2 separate regions of the Homo sapiens genome follow, and region 2 is linked to region 1. The links are contacts of gene promoters, found by promoter capture Hi-C in blood cells and fetal thymus (Javierre and others, 2016). All regions are on one chromosome and are shown on one strand. Each heading gives the region's core, a stretch centred on a gene start or on the middle of the fragment in contact. The rest is flanking DNA. Distances are from core to core; before and after follow the strand shown.

The links. Contacts are between HindIII fragments. The CHiCAGO score rates a contact against its expected background, and 5 or more counts as called.
Region 2: a fragment that was not itself captured here is called in contact with the fragment with the promoter of AP4E1 in region 1 in 1 of 17 cell types (total CD4 T cells); the score reaches 6.2 in total CD4 T cells.

The regions. Positions count from the first base shown.
Region 1 is chr15:50,905,224-50,912,278 of GRCh38, forward strand. It overlaps AP4E1 (adaptor related protein complex 4 subunit epsilon 1), which reads left to right and starts at 3,460. Exons shown (of 21, transcript NM_007347.5): 1 at 3,460-3,705; 2 at 6,855-6,926. The coding sequence starts at 3,556. RefSeq lists enhancers at 3,053-3,794, 3,269-3,558, 3,579-3,748, 3,795-4,536. The HindIII fragment of the contact is 3,809 bases long and covers 52-3,860 here.
Region 2 is chr15:49,612,129-49,619,183 of GRCh38, forward strand. FAM227B (family with sequence similarity 227 member B) reads right to left here. Exons shown (of 16, transcript NM_152647.3): 2 at 2,993-3,115. The coding sequence starts at 3,043. Among named protein-coding and RNA genes, the nearest start is that of FAM227B, 5.2 kb to the right of the region's middle. The HindIII fragment of the contact is 173 bases long and covers 2,809-2,981 here.

The sequences.
Region 1 (7,055 bases), core at 2,210-4,709:
ACATAAAATAAGGCAAGTGATTAACATCTCTAATGCCAAGGGAAAGAAAGAAGCTTTTGTCATACTTTCCTTTGTTATTTATAGTTTCGACCAGATTTCTCCCTTTCCCTGAGTCAGTGAATTCTGATACTGATGTCAGCTTCATCTTTTTCGGCATCTTTACAGACGGGAAGGTTAGAAAGCGAATCTTCTAGTATCCCCTTTTTAAGCCAATGGAAGAACCTAAAATTAAAAAACTATACATAAAACAAAATTTAATTTAAAGATAAAATATTAAATTCCTTTTTTTTTTGGAGACAGAGTCTTGCTCTGTCACCCAGGCTGGAGTACAGTGGTGCGATCTTGGCTCACTGCAACCTTCGCCTCCTAGGTTCAAGCAATTCTCCTGCCTCAGCTTCCCAAGTAGTTGGGACTACAGGTGTGCCACCATGCCCGGCTAAATTTTTTGTATTTTTTTTTTTTTGAGGTGGAGTCTTGCTCTGTCGCCCACGCTGGAGTGCAGTGGTGAAATCTCGGCTCACTGCAACCTCCGCCTCCCGGGTCCCAGCAATTCTCCTGCCTCAGCCTCCCGAGTAGCTGGGATTACGGGCGCACGCCACCATGCCCGGCTAATTTCTGTATTTTTTTAGTAGAGTCATAGGTTGGCCAGGCTGGTCTTGATATCCTGACCTTGTGGTCTGTGCACCTTGGCCTCCCAAAGTGCTGTGATTACAGGTGGGAGCCACCGTGCCTGTCCGAATATTTTGTATTTTTAGTAGAGACGGGGTTTCACCATGTTGGCCAGGTTGGTCTGGAACTCCTGAGCTCAGACAATCTGCCCGCCTTGGCCTCCCAAAGTGCTAGAATATAGGCATAAACCACCGCGCCCGGACGACAAAATATTAAATTCTAGGCAGGGCGTGGTGGCTCACACCTGTAATCCCAGCACTTTGAGTGGCTGAGGCGGGCAGATCATGAGGTCAGGAGACCGAGGCCATCCTGGCCAACGTGGTGAAACCACATCTCTACTAAAAATACAAAAAATTAGCCGGGTGTGGTGGCACGCACCTGTAATCCCAGCTACTCGGGAGGCTGAGGCAGGAGAACTGCTTGAACCTGGGAGGCGGAGGTTGCAGTGGGCCGAGATCACACCACTGCACTCCATCCTGGGCAACAGAGCGAGACACCATCTCAAAAAATAATAATAAAATAACAAAATTAAATTCTAAAAGAGTATCCCTTTCTGGCTGGGCGCAGTGGCTCGCGCTTGTAATCCCAGCACTTTGGGAGGCTGAGGTGGGCGGATCACCTGAGGTCAGGAGTTCGAGACCAGCCTGGCCAAAATGGTGAAACTCTGTGTTTACTAAAAATACAAAAATTAGCCGGGCATGGTGGCGGGCGCCTGTAATCCCAGCTACTCGGGAGGCTGAGGCAGGAGAATTGCTTGAACCCAGGGGGAGGAGGCTGCAGTGAACCCAGATTGTGCCACTGCATTCCAGTCTGGGTGATAGAGCGAGACTCTGAAAAAAAAAAAATTAAATGAATAAATGAGTATCCCTTTTAGATAAAGTTTAAATATTTTAAAATGTTCTCAATATATTAAAAAATATTCTTGCGAGACAAGCCAACAAATTGAACTTTTTTCTTATGTTCCCATATAGGTATTAAAACAACTTCAGGATTTCAAAAAAACTCATTTATTAGGTGACAAGGAGGTTACAGAGATTAGAGCAGGTATAACCGAAGATAGCTTGTAAGTGTAGCTGTAGCTGGTGGGCCGGTTGAGGTTCTGGACTTCGCGGTGCAAAATAATTTTGAAGTCCAAAGTAAAAGCAAGCAAAAGAGTTTATTGCAAAGCGAAAGTACACCCTCACAGCTGATCAGAGCGGGCTGCTCAAAGGTGAGACAGCATGCACTGACACTGGGGAAACTCCCTTTGTAGGAGTCTCACAGGATCATTCATGAAGCGGGGAGAACGGGTGCTGCTATTAAGCACGTTCTCTGGTTTTCTGTCGCCATGTGCGCTGTGGTTGTATATGCTAGTACATACACTGCATGTCTTATTAGTATCTTAAATCTTCACCCAGGAGTGGTGTTTTTTTTTTTTTTTTTTTTTTACTATTATAATGAGTATAATTCAGCCCAACGACACTGATCATGGGTTTCTGCGCTTGTGAGAGTTTGGGGATTTTCCCTTCTGCTCTCGTACCTCTTTGCTGCAAAATTTTCTAACCAGGAGCCTCGGATGTGGTTTGTACACTATGGGCTGGTTTGTTCTATTTATTTAGCAAGTTTGTTCCCCTTGAAGGGAGGCTATCACCACCTACCTAACCTACCTCCTAGAAACACACTAGGAGTACTGAGAGCAAATTGCATTAATCTCTGAAAACGCACGTATTTATGCCCTAAACCTACTACCTTAGAAAATTCTAGAAAACACAAGGATACTCCAGGATACATTTTACCAGCTAGTCAATCGTCATCTAGCCGCTTGAAAACTCTGTACATTTCCAACAGAATGAGGGTAAAAACGGCAAATAACACGTAAGAAACGTTATCAATGTTGTTTTGACTTTGTGAATTCCCTAGAAGGGTCTCAGCGACCCTGAGGTCACCAGACCACATTTCGAGAGCCATTGTACCAGACTCTGTTCTAGATAAAAGACGGAGCAATCGGAATGAATAAAATACTCTCTCTATGGGGAGCTGTTTACGTAGTGGCAACTGCGACCTGTTCTAAAGTGGAACAGAACCGAGCGCTGTGAGAGGGTGGGACTTGGAGACCTATCCTTGCCCGCCGGGCCAGGGGAGTGGGCTCTAGAAGGATGACCTTTCAACTGCGACCTGCTGAGGAGGAGTCGGCAAGGGTGGCCGCCGACCAGTTCTCTTTCCCGCCCACCTCCCCAAATCCCAGGAGAAGAGGGGCGGACGGGAAGCGACAGTGGCCGCGAGTCCCCGGCACGCGACGGGCTCTCAACCTGGCACGCCGAATCCTCAGGACAGCCCCGCTATCACGCAACTACTCGGGTGTCCCAAGAGTCGCCAGGGCCGGAGCCGCGCGCGGCGCCGGGGACCCGCGTGAAACCGCCTGTGGGAAGCGGGCGGGTGGCGCGCGCTCCGGGGACAGTGAGAGGCGGCGGACGGCGCGGGGACGTCCCGAAAAAGGCGCAGCCAGGAAGACGCAACTCCTGACGCGGTCTCGGGCTACGCGGAGGCGGCTAGTGGGAAAGGGGGACTCTGGGAGACAGTGCCTAACAGGGCCAGGCCCCCGACGGCTTCCTCAGGAGGACTCACGGTTCTGGGGGATTCCGGAACCGCTACCCCGTCGCGAGAAAGGAGGTCTACTTACGCGCGCAATCTCGAGCGAGCGGCCTTTTCCACCCCCGCGGTCTCTTGCGCCCTCTGGTGGCCTCTCGCGAGAACGACGCTGAACTTGTTCAGGTGGGACGCCAATAAAGATTTCTTATTCAAAAAACAGGAAGTGCCTACGGAGGCCGGGCCGGCAGCGGCGGCCGGGCATGAAGCCGGGCGGCTACGGGATCGCGGGCGGCGGCGGCATCGCGGGCGGCGGCGGCGATGAGCGACATAGTGGAGAAGACGCTGACGGCGCTGCCGGGACTCTTTCTGCAGAACCAGCCCGGTGGTGGGCCCGCGGCCGCCAAGGCGTCCTTCTCCTCGAGGCTGGGCAGCCTTGTCCGCGGCATCACAGCCCTCACCTCCAAGCACGTAGGTGCCCGCCGGCCCGGGAGCTCAGGGACATCGGAGTGAGGCCCCCGCGCCAGGAGGCCCTGGCCGGGCGGCGAGACTTCAGGGCCTCTGGGGTTAGCCCTCCGGCGGGGCTCAGGGGCTGCTGTGTCGGTTCGTCCTTTCGTCTGCCTGGAAGCTTCACTTTCCTGCTGGGACTGACAGCAGGGAAGCCGAGTTTCCACAGTTAGTTCTGACACTGACTCTTTGATCGGGGGCACATCTCTGTAACCTCTGAGCCTCCGTGTGTTTTCTCAACGTTGTGGTGGAAAAGTACTGATACATAATTCATAGGTTTTTTGTTTGTTTTGAGGATTGGGTGAGATGTCAAGCGTGTGAAAATACCTAGTGCGATGGAAGTGTCAGACATTATTTACCTTCCACAAAGTTTTTTTTCCCTACTCAGTTTCCTTCTCTCCCCCGGTGCCTTCAACTGAACAACAGTTCAGATGTCGCATACCTGAAGAGATCCTGTGAGCCTCTTGTTGAATATCTTTGGGGAGCTTGAGGTTCTTGGGTTACAACAACGTGTTGGGCAAAGAAAAAGCACAGTTCTCTCAAAATGTAAAATTTGCTAAGTCTCTGCCTCAAGTGGGCTTTGAAAATGAGCAGTTATAAAAATTCTTAAACTTTTAAAATTTTTAAATTTTTATTGACGGAGTCTCTCTCTGTCGCCCAGGCTGGAGTGCAATGGTGCGATCTCGATCTCGGCTCGCTGGAGCCTTAAGGTTTTAAAAATTTTAATTTTTGTTTTTTTTTGAGACGGAGTCTCGCTCTGTCGCGCAGGCTGGAGTGCAGTGGCGCGATCTGGGCTCACTACAAGCTCCGCCTTCCGGGTTCACGCCATTCTCCTGCCTCAGCTTCCCGAGTAGCTGGGACTACAAGTGCCCGCCACTGCCTGGCTAATTTTTTGTACTTTTCGTAGAGACGGGGTTTCACCGTGTTAGCGAGGATGGTCTCGATCTCCTGACCTCGCGATCCGCCCGCCTTGGCGTCCCAAAGTGTTGGGATTACGTGCGTGAGCTACCCTGCCCGGCCTTAAAATTTTTAAATTTTTAATGACGGAGTCTCGCTCTGTCGCCCAGGCTGGAGTGCGATGGTGCGATCTTGGCTCACTGGAGCGTCTGCCTCCCGGGTTCAAGCGATTCTCCTGCCTCAGCCTCCCAAGTAGCTGGGATTATAGGCGTATGCCACTACGCCCGGCTAATTTTTGTATTTTTAGTAGAGACAGGATTTCACCATGTTGGGCAGGCTGGTCTTGAACTGACCTCAAGTGTTCGCTCACTTCGGCCTCCCAAAGTGCTGGGATTACAGGCATGAGCCACCGCGCCGGGCCCCCACAGGCGCTCGATGGTTGCACGGATTGTGTAGTATACCGATTCACAGCTACAAGGAGTTTATATCTTAAAAAGAGCACGTGTTAATGTCATTATTTGTTCAACAGATGTTTATGGAACAAGGTTATGTGTTAGACACAGGAAAATAGAATTAAACACATTCCCTTTTCCCAAGGAATTAGTCATTCGTTTTGGGCTTAAGACAAGTATAAGCATGACTACAATGCAATAGAAGTGCTAAAAGAGAAGGAAAGACAGAAAAGAAAGTGCTCTGAAGGTTTAAAAAAAATATTTTTTTGGCAGCTCTAATAAGTTGATGCTATCCGGAGAGAACCTGCTTCACATTCCAGAATCATTACTTGTGGGCTTGTCTTGTTTTGTTTTGTTTTTGAGATGGAGTCTCACTCTGTCGCCCAGGCTGGAATGCAGTGGTGCAATCTTGGCTCACTGCAACTTCTGCTTCCTGGGTTCAAGTGATTCTTCTGCCTCAGCCTCCCTGGTAGCTGGGATTACAGGCACACGTCACCATACCCGGCTAATTTTTATATTTTTAGTAGAGACAGGGTTTCGCCATGTTGGCCAGGCTGGTCTTGAACTCCTGACCTCAGGTAATCCACCTGCCTTGGCCTTGGCCTCCCAAAGTGCTGGGATTACAGGCGTGAGCCACCACGCCTGGCCATTTGTGGCCTTAATAATGTTGTTTTTCTTAAGGTTTTTGTCCTTTGCTAATTTTTAAGGGATCCTCAATAAAATTTTTTAAAAAGTTATTTTTGGTCTTAAATAGCAGTTTGAAACTGTAGATAGGCATCCACGTGTATCAGTACGTCACTAGTGGCTTTTGAATAGCCATCTGATGAACATGTAATTCAGTGTGTAATTTAAAGGTAGCATGATATTAGCCAAAAAAAAATGGGGCCAATTTTTTAAGTGCTTAGGGAGATAACATACAATGCAGACAGTAGGAGTGACCACATTGGTATGTGTCTGAGATAGGAAGTTATGGAAAGGATTTGGGGAATGAGGAAAAGACAGGGAAGAAGAATGTAGTTTAAGGGAAAAAGACCTATTTCTGTTTCTGCTTTCTTACCCTGTTTCTTAATTCCATGAAGACTTTTTACTTCTAAGGGGAAGATGTGAGATGAGACTCTTTTCTTGGGCCAATACATGGAGAATTTCTACTCTCTCTCCACCTTTAATTTTTTTTTTTTTTTTTTTTTTAGATGGAGTCTTGCTCTGTTACCCAGGCTGGAGTGCAGTGGTACGATCTCGGCTCACTGCAACATTCACTTCCCGGGTTCAAGCGATTCTCCTGCCCCTGCCTCAGCCTCTCGAGTATCTGGGATTACAGGACCCCCAGCTAATGTTTGTATTTTTAGTAGGGACGGGGTTTTGCCATGTTGGCCAGGCTGGTCTCAAACTGCTGACCTCAAGTGATTCACTCGCCTTGGCCTCCCAAAGTGCTGGGATTACAGGCATGAGCTGTTGTGCCCGGCTTCCACCTTTAGTTTTAAAAAAAAACATTTTCTGCTATTCTACCATTAAGGGGAAGTAACTGAGTAAAGAAAAGAGGAAGGATGGGTTAGCCTGGAAATATTTATTCTCTCCAGGGATGGTTCTGAGGTTTGGAGAAATGCCTTTAGATAGATCGTAAGCAGATAGTATTTGTAACTCTCCTTTAAAATAATGTTTCTTTTAAATTAAAAGTATTGTAAATTATATTTTTCCGTTTAGATAAATGCTGTTACAGTTTTAAAAGACAGTTAATCAAGCATTTAAATATTTTCACTTTCTCAGGAAGAAGAAAAATTAATCCAGCAGGAACTGAGTAGTCTGAAAGCGACTGTTTCTGCTCCTACTACAACACTGGTAGGTTTGCATAGTCAGTGCCAACACATTTGAATTTGAAATCTAGTCACTGTGGACTCAATAGTGGCATCTAACTGATGATCGGTTGCTAAAATTTGATTTATCATAGTCAAAATGAATTATAGTTGG
Region 2 (7,055 bases), core at 1,645-4,144, 1.3 Mb before region 1:
ATGTGTACAACGTGCAGGTCTGTTACATATGTATACATGTGCCATGTTGGTGTGCTGCACCCATTAACTCGTCATTTAACATTAGGTATATCTCCTAATGCTATCCCTCCCACCTGTCCCCACCCCACAACAGGCCCCAGTGTGTGATGTTCCCCTTCCTGTGTCCATGTGTTCTCATTGTTCAATTCCCACCTATGAGTGAGAACATGCGGTGTTTGTTTTTTGTCCTTGCGATAGTTTGCTGAGAATGATGGTTTCTACCTTCATCCATGTCCCTACAAAGGACATGAACTCATCATTTTTTATGGCTGCATAGTATTCCATGGTGTATATGTGAATCATGGCTGAATTTTCTAAATTTCACACAGTGGCTGGTTCATAGTCAATGCATAATAAGTACTCGCAGTGTGCATAAATTAAAGCATAAATGAGTAGATGAATGTCAGAAATATATAGGTACTTGAAAAATAATAAAAATACTTCTAGAGAATGAAAATCCAGTGAGAAGGCAAAAATAAGAGGAATTCAGAAGTCTAATATCCTAATATCCATGATGATATCACTGAAAAGATTGTACTACATTTTTATTTATTAAAACACATATTTCATATCAATATATAAAGTGGTCAAGATTACAGAATCACAAGTTCATGTTTTAGAAAAAAATGCTAAAAAATAATTACATATTTGAATTGGGGGATATTTCATTCATCTAAATATATGATGAATATAAGAAAATATATAACTGATAATACAAGAAGAAGATAAAGAGTGTATGTGACAACCATTATAGAAAATGAGTATTTAGTGAGAGTCAAAAAATTAAACAATTGAACTCATGGAGATAGAGATAGAATGATGGTTGCCAGAGGCCGAGAAGGGTAGTGGGAAGTGAGGGGAAAGTGGGTATAGTCAATGGGTACAAAAATATAGGTTAGGGTCAAGCACAGTGGCTCATGCCTATAATACCAGCACACTTTGGGAGGCCAAGACAGGAGGACTGCTTGAGCCCAGGAGTTTGAGACCAGGTTGGGCAACACAGCAAGAGCCAATCTCCATAAAAAATTTTAAAAAAAGGTAAAACAAAACAAAACAAAACAGAGTGGCCAGGCATGGTGGCTCACGCCTGTAATCCCAGCACTTTGGGAGGCCAAGGCAGGTGGATTGCTTGAGGTCAACAGTACAAGAGACCAGCCTGGCCAACACGGTAAAACCCCAGTCTCTTATAAAAATACAAAAAAATTAGCCAGGTGTCCCAGCTACTCGAGAGGCTGAGGTGAGAGAATCGCTTGAACCCCAGAGGCGGAGGTTGCGGTGAGCCAAGATTGTGCCACTACACTCCAGCCTGGGTGACAGAGCGAGACTCTCTCTAAAAAACAAACGGACAAATAAAAACAGCTAGAGAGAATGAATAAGATCTAATATTCGATAGCACAACTGGCTAACTATAGTCAACAATAATTTACTGCACATTTTAAAATAAATAAAAGAGTATAATTGGAATGTCTACAACATAAATAAGTGATAAATGCTTGAAATGATGGATACCCCACTTACTCTGATATAATTATTATATATTGTATGTATCAAAAATTATCTCATGTATGCCATAAATATATATATACTTATGATGTACCCTTAAAAATTAAAAATAAAAATTTGAAAAAGGAAAGCAAATGTTTAGACAGAAGCAAAGATGCATAGAGATGTGAAGAACATGTTATGGGAAACAGGGAACTCTAGAGCTAGTCAAATTGAAAAGAATGAGAGATATGAGAGATGGTGCATGCAAAAGGCTTACAGACAGAAAAATACTCACGATATAATATCTCTAGCTTCATGGGTATAGCAATTTGGCTAGAAGGAACTCACAATACATTTACAAATATACAGAATCAAACTTAATGAAAACAATTTAAGCATTGACTTTTTTTTCTTGTAATGGCTGTCAAACCACTCCAAGTACAAAGCACCAAAAATAATATGCACATTTAAATTAAAGGGAATTAGAAAAGTGAAGAAAGTGAAACTTGCATAGTGAAGTTCTAACTAATTTCAAAAATTCCATGTTTCTTTTGGGGTAAAATTAAAATAAGGTAAGGTATAAATTAAACAGATTTCTACTTTTGGTAGGATGTAGAAGGATATAAAACACCTACACTTCCATGATAATAATAAGACAAACTTGGACAAAAAAAAAATCATATTTTTCTATGGGGTTAGTGAAAAGTGGTGAATGCCAGGAGGCAGGACCAGTTAAATAACTTGTAAACATTCAGAGTTCCTTGTTCAAAATTATTGAGTTTGAAGATAATAACATCAGAGCATTAAACCAAATGCATGTACTTCTCAGCATAAGGCCCTGTGCAACTGCAGAAGTTGTAAACCCATGAAGCTAAAAACAAGCCTAACTGTCCCATAGAACTAATGTTTATGGTTTCTTTAAATAAATATAGAAATTAATCCTTCTAGTCTTAAAACTTGAGAAAGTTACATTGGTCTTATCTGAGTTCCTTTCCCAGAAAACTAACCATCAGGCCTCCCAGATAGTGTCAAGGAACTAAAACATACCAAATCACTATATCTTGACAATTAGCCTCTAGACTCCTCACCATCACCCATCATGATTGCCTAACTGACTACCTGTTTCCTGTTAACCAACTCCTCCTTCTTACCACCACTCCCTAATTTCTGTTTTCCCACACATGGTTACATTTCTTCCTTGCTATATAAAACCCTAATTTTAGTCAGTCAGGGAGATGGATTTGAGACTGATCTCCCATCTCCTCGGCTGCAGCACCCTATTAAAGCTTTCTTCCTTGGCAATACTCATCTCAGTGATTGGCCATCTGTGCAGCGAGCATTAAGACCTAGACCAAACCCTTGGTGTTTCAGTGACAAAGCCAGCTCTACCTGGGAGCCCTGATTACCTGAAATTCCAAGAGAAATATAACCTTTGTAAGTGAACATAAAGCTGTGGAAGCTTCCTTACCCCGGGGCCAGCTCTGCTGCTCCTCCTTTGACATGTTCGTTGGCCTGCCATGGTACAGTAACTTTGCAGAAATGAAGAGAAATCAGCTGGGTCTTAGGCTTCAATGTGAGTTGGGCGACCAAACTGGGGTATGAAAGACACCCAAATGCAAAAATAAATGACTCAGCCAAACAATCCCTTTCCCCTCACCCACAAACCTCACTTCTGACTTTTACCAAGTCAGATAGTTTGGCTCTGTATCTCCACTCAAATCTCATGTTGAACTGTTGGAATCCCCAGTGTTGGAGGTGGGGCCTGGTGGGAGGTGATTGGATCATGGGGGTGGTTTCTAATGATTTTGCAACATCCCCCTAGTGCTGTTTTGTGATAGACTTCTCATGAGATCTGGTTGTTTAAAAGTGTGTAGCACCTCCCCCTTCACCCTTTTCCTCCTGCTCCAGCCATGTAGGACGCATCTGCTTCCCCTTCACCTTCTGCCATGATTGTAAGTTTCCTGAGGCCTCCCCAGCCATGCTTCCTGTACAGCCTGTGGAACTGTGAGTCAATTAAACTTCTTTTCTTTAAAATTACCCAGTCTCTGGTAGTTCTTTATAGCAATGTGAGAACGGACTAACGCAGCAGGGGAGGAAGGGCTGGAAAATATATTCTGCTCATGAAGCTGGAGGTTCTACTACGTCACATGACAAACGACATGCATATAACAAGAAATGGACAAGGGAAGGCTAATAATATAAGCTATTATAATGTTTATAAGAAAGATTGGCCTGAATTTTTCTATCTTATAATGTGAAGATTTGGAATTAAGGCTATTATGGTCTCAAAAAAAATGAGTTGGGAAATGCCTCTATTTTTTTCTATTATCTGAAAGAATTTAAAATCTGAAAGATCAGTACTATTTCTTCCTTTCTTCCTTAAATGTTTGGTGGACACTGCTAGTTATGTTCCCTGAACCTGAACCTGAAATTATGGGGGAGTTTTAAATTAAGGATACTGTTATGGACCTAATCATGCCCCCACCCCAAATTCATATGTTCAAGCCCTAACACTTATAACAAGATGTGACTTTATTTGCAGATGGAGCCTTTGAGGAGACAATTAAGGTTAAAAGAGACTAAAAGAGTGGGGCTCTAATATGATTGGTGTCATTATGAGAACAGACACCAGAGAGCTTGCTTGCTTATACTCTCTCTCCATATACACACAGATATTTTATCTGTGAAAATATCTAGAACTATGAAATAATAAACTTTGTGTTGTTTTAAGCCACTTTGCTTGTTGGCTGTTTGTTACAGCAGCAATAAGAAACTAATATGAGGAGAAAGAGTGATTTTTTTTTTTAGCATTTTGCAGATGTGAAAAATGCCACACACTTAACTGATGCTCTGTCTATATAAGAGAAGAGGCTTTGTAAGGACATGGTGAGAAGGCAGTGGTCTACAAGCCAGGAAGAGAGGCCTCACTAGAAACTCACACTGATGGCACCTTGGTCTTGGACTTCTGGCCTTTAAAACTGTGAGAAAATAAACTACTGTTGTTTAAGTCATCTACTCTGTGGTATTCTATTACAGCATCCTAGGTAGACTAATACAGATATAAGCTATCAAAATTAATATAGGATCATTCAGCTATTCTATTACTTCTTAATTTTGGTAAATTATCTTTCAAGAAAAATTGAAATGTCAAGTATTTTGATATAAATATTTATTCTTAATATCCTCCTATTATCTTTGCAATCTGTAGTGTCTGTGGTGATGTTTCATTTTTCATTTCTGAAATTTGTACTTTTCTTTATCTTGGTCAGTCTATCTAAAGGCTTATCAATTTTATTAATCTTTGCAAAGAACCAGTTTTGGCCTTGTTGCTTTTCTTTAGTGCACATTTGTTTTTAATTTCATTGATTTATTCTTATCTTTATTAGTCCCTTTTCTTCTTTAAATGTTTGAGAAACTTCCAATGATAAACCTTGCTCTACTATGAAGCTGAATGCTTGACAATTCCTGTTGAGACACCATGAGGCTTTCTATCACCATTTTAATCCTTGTATTTCAAAATGGATAGAAAGCTAAAGATTATTATTTATGGACTAATTGTGAAATAAAAAATATTTTTAAAAAATGGAAATCCAAACAAGTGACTAAAAATAAAATCTAGGCATATACAGACAATGTGGGGAACAGAAGGAAACTTCAAAAAAGTCTTTAAGACTCATAGAGAGCTATAATAAGATAATGCATCCCTGAAACCAAAACTGCATGTTATAAATGAATACAGAATAAGAAAAAATGCAAAGTACAAATATGATATAAATTATTCAACAACAGTCTAGTGAAAAATAGCTGAAGAAATCTTCTAGAAACTAGAACAAAAATGTTAAAGTAAACAAGAATCAGAGGATAAAAAAACAATAATTTAGAGGATTATGCCAGAAAATGACTTTCAATCTGTAAATTTAAATATAAACAGAGCATCAATTAAATGTGTGGCATTTTTCAGATTTGCAAGATACTAAAAAAAAATTCATCTCATATTAGTTTCTTATTGCTGCTGTAACAAACAGCTAACAAAGTGGCTTAAAAAATCACAAAGTTTATTATTTCACAGGTCTAGAGGTCGGGAATCTGAAATGGGTCTGCAGGGCTATGCTCCTTTCATGTTTTGTGTGTGTGTGTGTGTGTGTGTGTGTGTGACAGAGTTTCACTCTTGTCGCCCAGCATAGTAAATTTACTTGTGTAACAAAAAAAACACAAAATATCAATGGCTTAATACACATAATTTTTTCTCCCAGAAGATCTTTTTGTGAGAAAAGGGGCTTCTAGCAGTCACCTGCTATCCTTTGCTCAGAGCTCCTCCCTCTATCTTCAAAGCCAGCAGTGTAGAGTCTTCTCCCCTCTCTTGACATCTTGTCTTCCTCTCATAAGAACTCTTTGATTATGTCCAGCCACCCAGACAATCCAGGGTAATTTAGCCCATCTCCTTAATCACATATGCAGTTCCTTTTGCCATATAAAATATCAACAGGTTCTGGAGGTAAGGATATAGACATCTTTGGGGGCCATTATTCTATCTACTACACTCCTATTTACCTTTTTCCAAGAAGGTATTAGAGAATGTAGTTCATTTTTAAAAAGGGATTAAACAAAGAAAAAGGAAACAAGGGATCTAACACACAGGAGAGCAGTATTATGTTGGAGAAACCAGCAATCCTAAATAAACTAAAGGCTGTAACGCTGTAGGAAGAGTATCTGTAAGGAAAAAAAATCTACTGGATTAACTGATGTATTTCACTGTGATGCTTTAGCAGTTTGCCAGTGTTTGAGAACAGATAAATAATACATTAAAAATGGCAGTTAAGAGAAAGGAAAGTAAAAAGTTGTATTAAAAGTTAATGCGATCTTAGTATACTATGTGCCTTGGGGTTGAATGACATTTACCTAGACAGTAGTGATAACACTAAATGTTGATTTAGCCAAAGCCTATGATATCACTATTGACAGGTGAAGGGACAAGAAGAGTGTATGAGGTAGAGAGGGAATGTTCACACACTTGGAGGTGGTGTTGTTACAAAAGACCTTTATCACTGCCTTCCACAGGAGAAAGTCAGTGGGTAATGTCTGAAATTGGAAAATCAAGAAACTGCAATGTAAGTATATTTAGACATGGGGGTAACAGATGAAATATTTAAAAGACTTGAATTTTCCTTTGGTGAGAAGAATTGAGAATAGAGTAGAAGGGTTGGGTACTACAGGGTTTTCTTTAACCTAGAATGTGGCAAACTGTTAGTGCTCACCAATATGTGTGTGTTTCTCTACATTTCTCAGGATCCCCGGCAGTTAAAGTGGGGGCCTTGGGACTAAATTCTGGCCAACAGAATGTGGCCAAATTGATACATGTCATTTTTAGAGTTAACCTTGGGTAATTTGCCATACTTTCTTTCTTGTCAAACAAGCTAGTCCTAGAAGGCAGCAGAACCATTAAAAATAAAAACATCTGGCCTTGAATTTAACATTTCGTCTGCCTAGAAATAGCCACAATGGATCTTTTGTGAGGAAAAAAAAAAGTGTAT